Linked DNA regions of Homo sapiens: region 1 is linked to region 2. The links are contacts of gene promoters, found by promoter capture Hi-C in human tissues and cell types (Jung and others, 2019). All regions are on one chromosome and are shown on one strand. The core of a region is centred on a gene start or on the middle of the fragment in contact, and the rest is flanking DNA. Distances in the headings are between cores, read along the strand shown. Region 1 has its middle 110 kb from the start of LINC01747. Region 2 holds the start of CST8 (cystatin 8).

Region 1 (4,775 bases), core at 2,134-4,633, 700 kb before region 2:
TAAAGCACATTGGCAGCTTTGGGACTTCTGTGAGCCAACCACTAAGAATGGACTTTGGGAGGCTACACCGCTACATCCATTCTAGAGTTGCATTTGGTATTTCCTCTAAAAGGGCTTCACCACTCACCTGGGGGCTCTGAGGCATTTGAGCACTTCAGCTCAGTTTTTCAGCCCTGAGGTGAGACAGGAAAGCAAGCTTGCCCAAAGGATACAGGGAAGTCTGAGACCAGGCCCAGATTCAGAACCACAGGCTGAGGAGCTTGTTACTTGGGCTGAGCCGTCCTGCTCCCATAGCTGGGTGCACCCAAAAACTTCAAATGTGTGCCTCAAAATGAAGGCAGCATGCCAATGATTGGCAGTGCATCCAATTCACTCTTCAATTCCACATTTGGACTCAGTGCTTAGGGGATGGGGCTTTAAAGTGTATGTTTTTGGGAATATTATATACATGCAATAAAATGCCCTATTCTTTGGTGTTTGACTTGATGAGTTTTGTCAGTTTTATATACCTGTGTATAATCACCACTCTGTATGAGACACAGAACATTATATCATCCAAGACGGTTTCCTGTGCCTCTGCCCAGTCAAGCATCCACTGTCCCAACCCAAGGCAACCATGGTCTGACTTCAAGCACCAAAAGATTATGTTTTTCATTTCTACAACTTCATGTGAATGGATTCATACAGTATGTGCTAAGCTTCTTTCACTCAATGTGTCTCTAATATTTATGTATGTTGTATGCATCAGTAGTTATTTTTTATGGTTGAGTAGGAGTTCATGAGTATATTCACTTGAGAGATGTTTGGATGGCTTGTCCTTTGAGTTGGTTACAAACAAGTCTACCATGAGAATTTTGGTGCAAGAGTTCTTGCAGATATATGCTTTTGTTTCTCTTGGGTAAATGTCTAATAGTGGAATTACTGGGTTGATGTGGACTCAACTGTAGAAGAAACCAAATGAGTTGCTTTTGAAAATTATCATTTCTGGTAGACTCATAGCCTCTCATAGCTGAACGAAAATTTTGCTCCTTGGCCATTTGGTCCAACCTCGTCATTTAAGATAAGGACAACTGAGATGCCAAGGAGTCATCACTCTTTCATGGCTGTAGATCTAATAAGTAGCTGAGGAAGAGCTGGACCCAGCCTTTCTGACCTCATACTTCCTTACCAAGGAGCATTAGAAAACCCTACTTATTCCTGCTTGTGAGGTAAGAGTTATTTCTAAATGCAAATATTTGTTTTCTTGCTTTTATTCACATAGTGAAGAAAATTGAATCCATGGTGACCTTATTGAATCCACACAGAACCTTATTATACATTGATTCATAAGGTGTTATTGTATCATAGCTATAGACAGCTGTGGAGATTAGGGTAAGTCTACACTGTCTTGAGAACATGTCTTAGAATTTAAGTTTTCTCCAAATACGTAGTATTGATTCGGCTTTACCTTTTGCTAAGAAAATGAATGTTGGTAACTTCTCACATAGTAATAATAATTCCATTTCCAAGAACATCTCCTAAGAACATAAATATAGATGTGCAGGAGATATATGCGAGGGTCAGAAATGCTGAGGAGCAGGGCATGACTCACTGCACTAGCTCATGCCGACAGGCCAAGAAGGTGACAACAGGGCCCTGGCTGTGGATTTAGTAGCATGGATGTCATCAGCAAAAGACTAATTTGTCTCCAGTGTCTAAAACAGTGCCTGGAGCTCCAGAAGTAGGACATGATTGATTGAGTGGCAGGGGCATCTCAAGTTGACTCGAATATCCTTTGTTTGAGCATACTCAAGAGAAAATGGGAAGATAAAGTGAGATTTCTTTTAAAGGACAGCAAGGAAATGAGGTGGCACTTGTAGGGGAATATAGGGCTAAGACAGGGTTTTCTCAAGATAAGAGAAATCACCAGATGTTTGCATGATGTTGGGAGTGATCCAGTAGAAAGAAAAAAGTAAAAATATTCTACCAATAACCATAACAAATGACCAAACATATTGTTGCTAAGGCAATGATATCTTGACTGATGCAGGGAAAAAAGTAACCTCAACAGGTCAAGTCCCAAGTGTGAGCCTGTCACCAGCATGCAGTGGGAAGTACAGTTTCTGGAACTCTGAGCCTAATTCTGCCTCCAAGTTGTTGTTGGTGGTGGATGAGTCATTTTGCATTGTCATCTCCCTTTCCTTACCTGTGCAAAGAAGGGTTGAAATCAGACTCCCCCACTCGCACACCTCATGATAACTTCCTGAGGGCTGCCACAGGCCGTCAGCTTCTCTCTCTTTGTGTGCAAGCCAGACCCTTAGTAATGCAAGTCCCTCATCCTACTCTAACTGCATGAGCCAAGCTCAGATCCCCTGCAGGAAAAGAATTCAAGGCCTTCTTTGCTCAGACAGGAGACAGATTCTTGGAAGTAGTAACGTCTTACCCAACATCTTGAGGAAGTTTTCATAAAAGCCTGGGATCAACATCATATGAAACATAGCCATCAAGTTTTGAGCCCTAAAGAGAATTCAGAATAGAGTGAGGTCAAGTGAATGTCTAACTGCTGAGTGAAGGATCATGGGAGATTTCAAAGGGCTCTTGTTTTGGAGTTTTCAGGACTTTCCCCAAGAAATTTTCATGGTTGATGTGTGCTCCAGTAAGAACAGGAGAATATGAAATCCGGGGATGAGGGACAGGGGTGGGGAGTCTAAGAGGCTAATTATCCTCTGTGTAGAATGAAACCCCATGAAAAAGGAGCACTCCTGTTACACATTTTATTGTTAGTTAGCATTCTATATGTTACTAAATAATTTTGCTTTACTACTTTATTTATAGCTACATAATCTTGAACAAGTCACTTATCCTCTTTGAGAATAATTTTACCTCTAAAATGGGCATACTATGACTATTTTGCAGGATTGTAGAGTAAATGAAAATTTGAGTCTTTCAATAAACATTTATCATCCTAAGTGCTGTTTTTATTCATACAAAATGGAAATTATTAGTTGTAGTGAAACCATAAGTATTGGCTGAGAACCAGGCACAAAAGGAACCAAATGGAAGCCCCGCATTCAGGTTGAATCTAGGAAGCAATGCCGGCTGCAGGTGCAGAATTCATCAGCAGAACATGGCTCTCAGGACATCTTTGTAAAGGTCTCTTGTCTTCTGGTGTGAGGCAGGCCATGTGTTCCTCCAGGCATTAAGGTCAGAATCACTGATAACAGTTTGGATGTCTCCATCAAACCTTATTTTGAATTGTAATCCCCAGTGTTGGAGGTGGGGTCTGGTGGGAGCTAATTGGATCATGGGGGCAGATTTCTCACGGATGGTTTAACACCATCCTCTTGGTGCTGTCCTTGTGGTAGTGAGTGAGTTCTTGTGACGTCTGTTTGTTTAAAAGTGTATGGCACCTCCCCACTGGCTCTCTTGCTCCTGCTCTCACCATGTGATACATATGCTTCCACTTTGCCTTCACCATGATTGTAAGTTTCCTAAGGCCTCACCAGAAGCCAAGCAGATACTGGCACCATGCTTTCTGTACAGCCTGCCGAACGGTGTGCCAATTAAATCTCTTTTCTTTATAAATTACCAGTTTCGGATATTTCTTTACAGCAACGCAAGAACAGCCTAACACAATCACCACGGGAAGACCTCCTCTCCCTGATGGTGGCTGATGAGGAGACTCACTTCCTGGAGTAGTCCAGTTACCCTCCCACAGCTATCACTTGAGGAGGGAAACACATTTTCTCAGGACTCCCTTAATCCCCTGTGTCAATCCAACTCTCTGGCACTTTTGCCTAGACTTTGGGTCAAGTAGAAAAAAGTGAGCAGCTTTTCTGATGGTGTAACTGATATTTCTTTATCCTAGGAATGTATTTTGGTGCAAAGCTTATAGTGCAGAAGTCTAAGACCCAAAAATCAGTTAAAAAACAGTTAACACATATTTTAAAGGTGCTTTACAATGACTTTGCAAATATGTATTTTAAATATACAACTTCTTCCTAAGTTCCATTATTTGTACATTAAAACTGCTCCAGGAATTGGTCAACTTCAAGTCCAGCCAACTCTGACATTTAATTTCTAGAGAAACTGGGCATTTCTAACAAAAATCTAAGAGCTTAGATAAATAGTAGTAGGTAATTTTGAGATCCCTGCTTTGTGAATGGGGGCTAAGAGGCAGAACTAATTTCTGCTGCTTTCTCTGAGCTCTCTTCTTTCACATATTTTTTCAGTATTCAGGAATTTCCTAAATGGCTTTAAGGATAATGTGATCCTTTTCTAGATGAGAAAGAAGAACAGGGGCTCACTCTGTGTAATCTCTTTCCTGCTTCTTAGAGAGGGCACTGGGGACATTTTCATTCCTTCATAGTTCCCCACCCTTTCCAAGAGTGCATACTCTTTTGCTTGACAACCTGCCAGGTGACTTGGCTTAAAAATAGGTTATCTCATTCATCAACTTAACAAATATTTGCTGGGCATATCCTATGAGCTGGGAACCGTGCTAGAACAAAGAATAAAATGGAGCCTCTGCCTTTATACAGCATATCACATGGTCAAGGCAGACTGCAATTATGACACAATGTGTCATGTTAAGGGTGAGTGTGGGGACTGAGGAAAATTGGAGGTTTTTCCAAACCTCAGTCCTGAAGAATTAAAGGAGGCATCCTAGAGAGAGTGATGTGGAACTTGAGACCTAAGGGACAAGTGGGAGTTAGCAAGGGAATAACAGTGAGAGTTATTAATGTATAGATGTTTTTTAAAGTGCTGAGGCTGAATGACATCACCTGGAGAGTGAG
Region 2 (4,472 bases), core at 548-3,047:
ACATGCAGCAGGATTTGAAAATCATGAATATATAATTAGTAAGTGACGAACATTTTGGCAATAAATAATAAATTTAAATTTGCGTAAAGCTTTGCATCAATTTTACATCTAGTCTTTTATTTTACAAAAACACTTGTGTAACATCATGAAGATATTGGAAAGGGATTGTTCACTGCAATACTGTTTGTAACAGCTGAAAATGAGAAACTGAAGAATCTAGTCATAGGGAGAAAGTTTAAATACAGCATAATGCATTTGTAGTCTGCAATGCTTTGCCACCTGCCTGACAGATTCCTGCCCCATATGTGTTTTCTGTACGTTGCCCTTGCTCATAGAACCCATTGATCTTTGCAGCCTAGGAAGAATGCTCACCTCTCTGCCTCACCAGGAACTTTCTGGACACTGATTTGGGATTTTCACAGAAAAGCAGAAGCTTTGAGAGCTTAACAGGTGCGTGCCCCCCTCCTCCCACTAAGGGCCAGGCCTGGGCATCAGAGTGGGCCACGTGACCCTTACCCTGGCAGGACAGGGCAGGGGGTTACTGTTGGCCCAAGCCAAGGGAGTTCAGAGGCCAGGCATTCAGGAAGCCAGAGTCATTGGCACAGGTGGGCAGAAGATGCCAGAGGGGCCCTGTATTAGTCAGGGTTCTTTTAAAGGGACAGAACTAATAGGATATATATGGTTGTGTATATATATAAAGTTAATACTTAATAAACTCCCCTTTATATATATATAAAATATATATATAAATTATATATATATTAATTATATATATAATATATATATAAATTATATATATATTAATTATATATATAATATATATATAAATTATATATATATTAATTATATATAATATATATATAAATTATATATATATTAATTATATATAATATATATATAAATTATATATATATTAATTATATATATAATATATATATAAATTATATATATATTAATTATATATATATAAAATATATATAATTTATATATATAAAATATATATAATTTATATATATAAATTATATATAAAATATATATAATTTATATATATAAATTATATATAAAATATATATAATTTATATATAAAAATTATATATAAATTATATATATAAAATATATATATAAATTGTATATATATAAAATATACATATAAATTATATATATATAAAATATACATAAATTATATATATAAATAATATGTATATAAAAGGGAGTTTATTAAGTATTAACTTACATGATCACAAGGGCCCACAACAGGCTGTCTGCCAAACTGAGGAGCAAGGGGAGCCAGTCTGAGAGTCCCAAAACTGAAGAACTTGGAGTCTGATGTTCGAGGGCAGGAGGCATCTAGCATGGGAGACAGATGTAGACTAGGAGGCTAGGACCATCTCTCCTTTTCACGTTTTTCTGCCTGCTTTATATTCGCTGGCAGCTGATTAGATTGTGCCCACCAGATTAAAGGTGGATCTGCCTTCCCCAGCCCACTGACTCAAATGTTAATCTCTTTTGGAAACACCCTCACAGACACACCCAGGATCAATACTTGGTGTCCTTCGATCAAATCAAGTTGACACTCAGTATTAACCATTGCAGGCCCCTGACTCTGAGGGCACAGCAGGAGGCATTTGCTTGCTCTCTGTGCCCCTGTGAGAGCTGTTTAGACCAAAGGCCGGAGGCTGGCAAGTGGGAGATGTCCTCACTGGGACAAGACACAGGTGCTGAATTACATCACAAAGCGTAACCTCCCTGCAGGGCGTGGACTCAGAGGGGCAAGAGAGACCGCAGACCAGGACCCACAGAGACCCTTGACTGGGCCACAGGCATGAACTAAGAGTGCTGAAGACCTAGGAGAACCACTGGTCAGGTCAGCTCCCAGCTCCACAGGGAGTAAGAAGGAGCTGCAGGCACAGCAGGCTGAAAGTCCACCAAGGGCTGAGGCCACAAGGCCTCTGGGGCAGCCACAGTTTTCATGATCACATCATACAGGACTGAGAAGCAGATAACAAGAGTGACGCTCACAGGGGTAGGCATAGACACACTGGGGCCGAAGGGGAGAGGAACTCTCCCTAGACACACAGATTGCTCTCAGGGTAAGGAGGGGAGGCTGGTAGAGAGACTCCTTAACTGGCATTCCTGGGTGGGTTTCCATGGAGAAAGAGAGGACAAACCCCAAAGAGTGACCCTAATGGCCTGTCTTGAATCCAGCTGGGCTGACGCTAACAGGAGGCAGTGTGTGGCTCGAAGATTCTTGAACCCACAGCAGCAGCTGCGGCCACCCCATCCTGCCCACAGCTCCAGCCCTGAGACGACGAGGAGGAGAGTCGACTTTGCCTCTTGCCCAAGGGACCATGCCCAGGTGCCGGTGGCTCTCCCTGATCCTCCTCACCATTCCCCTGGCCCTGGTGGCCAGGAAAGACCCAAAAAAGAATGAGACAGGGGTGCTGAGGAAATTAAAACCCGTCAATGCCTCAAATGCCAACGTGAAGCAGTGTCTGTGGTTTGCCATGCAAGAATACAACAAAGAGAGCGAGGACAAGTATGTCTTCCTGGTGGTCAAGACACTGCAAGCCCAGCTTCAGGTAAAGGTGTCTTTCCATATAGGTGGACATTTGCATATGGTGGCACAGTTGAAGCCAGACTGAAAGAGTGGGCATATAAGAAAAATATCACTATGCAAAAATCCTAAATATGTGAATGCTTAAGAGCCTAGACACTTCCACAGCATCAATAAGGCAGTGAACACACAGAGCACTTTCTACAAACGCTTGCGCTTTTGTTCTAAGTCCTTCGCATAGATTAACTCATTTAAACCCCAAACTGCAAATCAAATGTTCATGTATTTGCTAAGGTTGGGAGACAGATAGAATGCTAGCCATGAGAAAAGATCTGATAAAGGTGAGTCCAGGTGAACCTGGACCCAACTAGCAGACACTCCTTCATCTCCTGCTGTAATCCTTTAATGCCAGATGAAAACAGATTTAAATGGACATCACAAGTAGCCTTGATTGCATTCAGTCACTAATGAGTTCAACAAATACTAATGTCCTGCTATAAACCTACTGCTGTTCTACTCACTAAAGACTCAGCAGAGAACAAGACAGGCAAACTCATGCCTGCATGGGTCCTCATGGACTGTGTGCTGAGCTGGTGGGAGGGGCTTTGGGTGGGGAAACCCCAGAGGATGGGAGGTTTCACAGGAATCTGAGGGACTGGGGCCTAATGTGGCTGAGGGGGCTGTCCCCTGGTCAGGCCTGTGTGAACCTGAGCATCTCAGGCCCAGGAGAGCTGATGGTTCTGAAGAGCCCACCTTTCACCTCTCAGTCCTCACTGAGCATGCAGCATGCCCTGGGCTTGGGGACAGGAAATGGAATGAGAAGGCCTTGCTTTCAAGGAGGTGACAAACTGGAGAGGAGTCTTTACTCAAGTGTCCAGCTCCAGGAGCCTATGGAGTCCTGACTGATCTTGTTGTACACAGGGCTCCAGGCAGTGGGCATCTTAGCCTTCCGCTAAAGCTCTGTCTGGGGGTGAGGGAGGAAGGAAAGAGGAAAGGACGAGAGTAAGAGTAATTTTTTTTTTTTGTCAAAACTTTAAAAAAGTACAACTCTTTTGAATAAAATTGCATAATTGCTAACCAACAGGTCACAAATCTTCTGGAATACCTTATTGATGTAGAAATTGCCCGCAGCGATTGCAGAAAGCCTTTAAGCACTAATGAAATCTGCGCCATTCAAGAAAACTCCAAGCTGAAAAGGGTAGGTGATGAACCACTCATCTGTGACGGCCTAGGCAGCTCTGAACCCAAGAGAGAAAGCTGAGGCACGCAGACCTTCTCTTTGAGGTCTGGGTGGCTCCCAGTGTTTAGCCCCAGATAGCCAACCCTGTGGCCTTTATAGCAGAAGATCCAGGGCCACGGAACGTGGTGGAACCCTCTGAGCTTCTTTCTCATCCTTCATCCTGCAGAAAGGATGTTGTCAAGACCACTCTTATCTCAAGGGCTCCATTGACTTCTGGCCTTTTGATGCAGGCACACTGGACAACACATAATCACCAAAAGCCTGTCCTCTTGGGTCCAGACAAGCCACCCACTATTGCTGGGCCCATGGTCACTCATCCCCATACAGACACAAAAGGAACTTCATTCATTCACTCATCCACTCATAGAAAATTACTGAGCACCAGGTGCTACGTGCTTTGCACCAGGTCTATTCTGGGTGCTGGAGATTAAGCAATGACTAAGCCAGAGGGTGGCCCCACCCTCCTGGGTTTACAGTTGATTTTTGCTGGGGTCAGTCCAGGTTTCCAGGAAGGTTGGGGCAAACCCACAGACTCCCAACAAAAGGAGGACTTGGCCCAGGGGCTTTTGGCTTCAAGCCTGTATTTTTTATCTCAGAGCAGCTCATAGGCCAGTACTTGGTCCCAGACAGATGAAGGCCTGAGCATTCTGCAGGTTTGCCCAACAGGTGCATCACTGT

What was found. Contacts are between HindIII fragments. The study calls those that stand out against the background at their distance.
Region 1: a contact is called between a fragment that was not itself captured here and the fragment with the promoter of CST8 in region 2, in 2 of the 25 tissues and cell types used here (small bowel and spleen).

Annotation. Positions count from the first base shown.
Region 1 is chr20:22,789,944-22,794,718 of GRCh38, forward strand. No RefSeq gene overlaps it. Among named protein-coding and RNA genes, the nearest start is that of LINC01747, 110 kb to the left of the region's middle. The HindIII fragment of the contact is 6,670 bases long and covers 49-4,775 here.
Region 2 is chr20:23,489,320-23,493,791 of GRCh38, forward strand. CST8 (cystatin 8) reads left to right here and starts at 1,798. Exons shown (of 4, transcript NM_005492.4): 1 at 1,798-2,023; 2 at 2,206-2,579; 3 at 3,639-3,752. The coding sequence starts at 2,349. RefSeq lists an enhancer at 1,262-1,762. The HindIII fragment of the contact is 12,460 bases long and covers 262-4,472 here.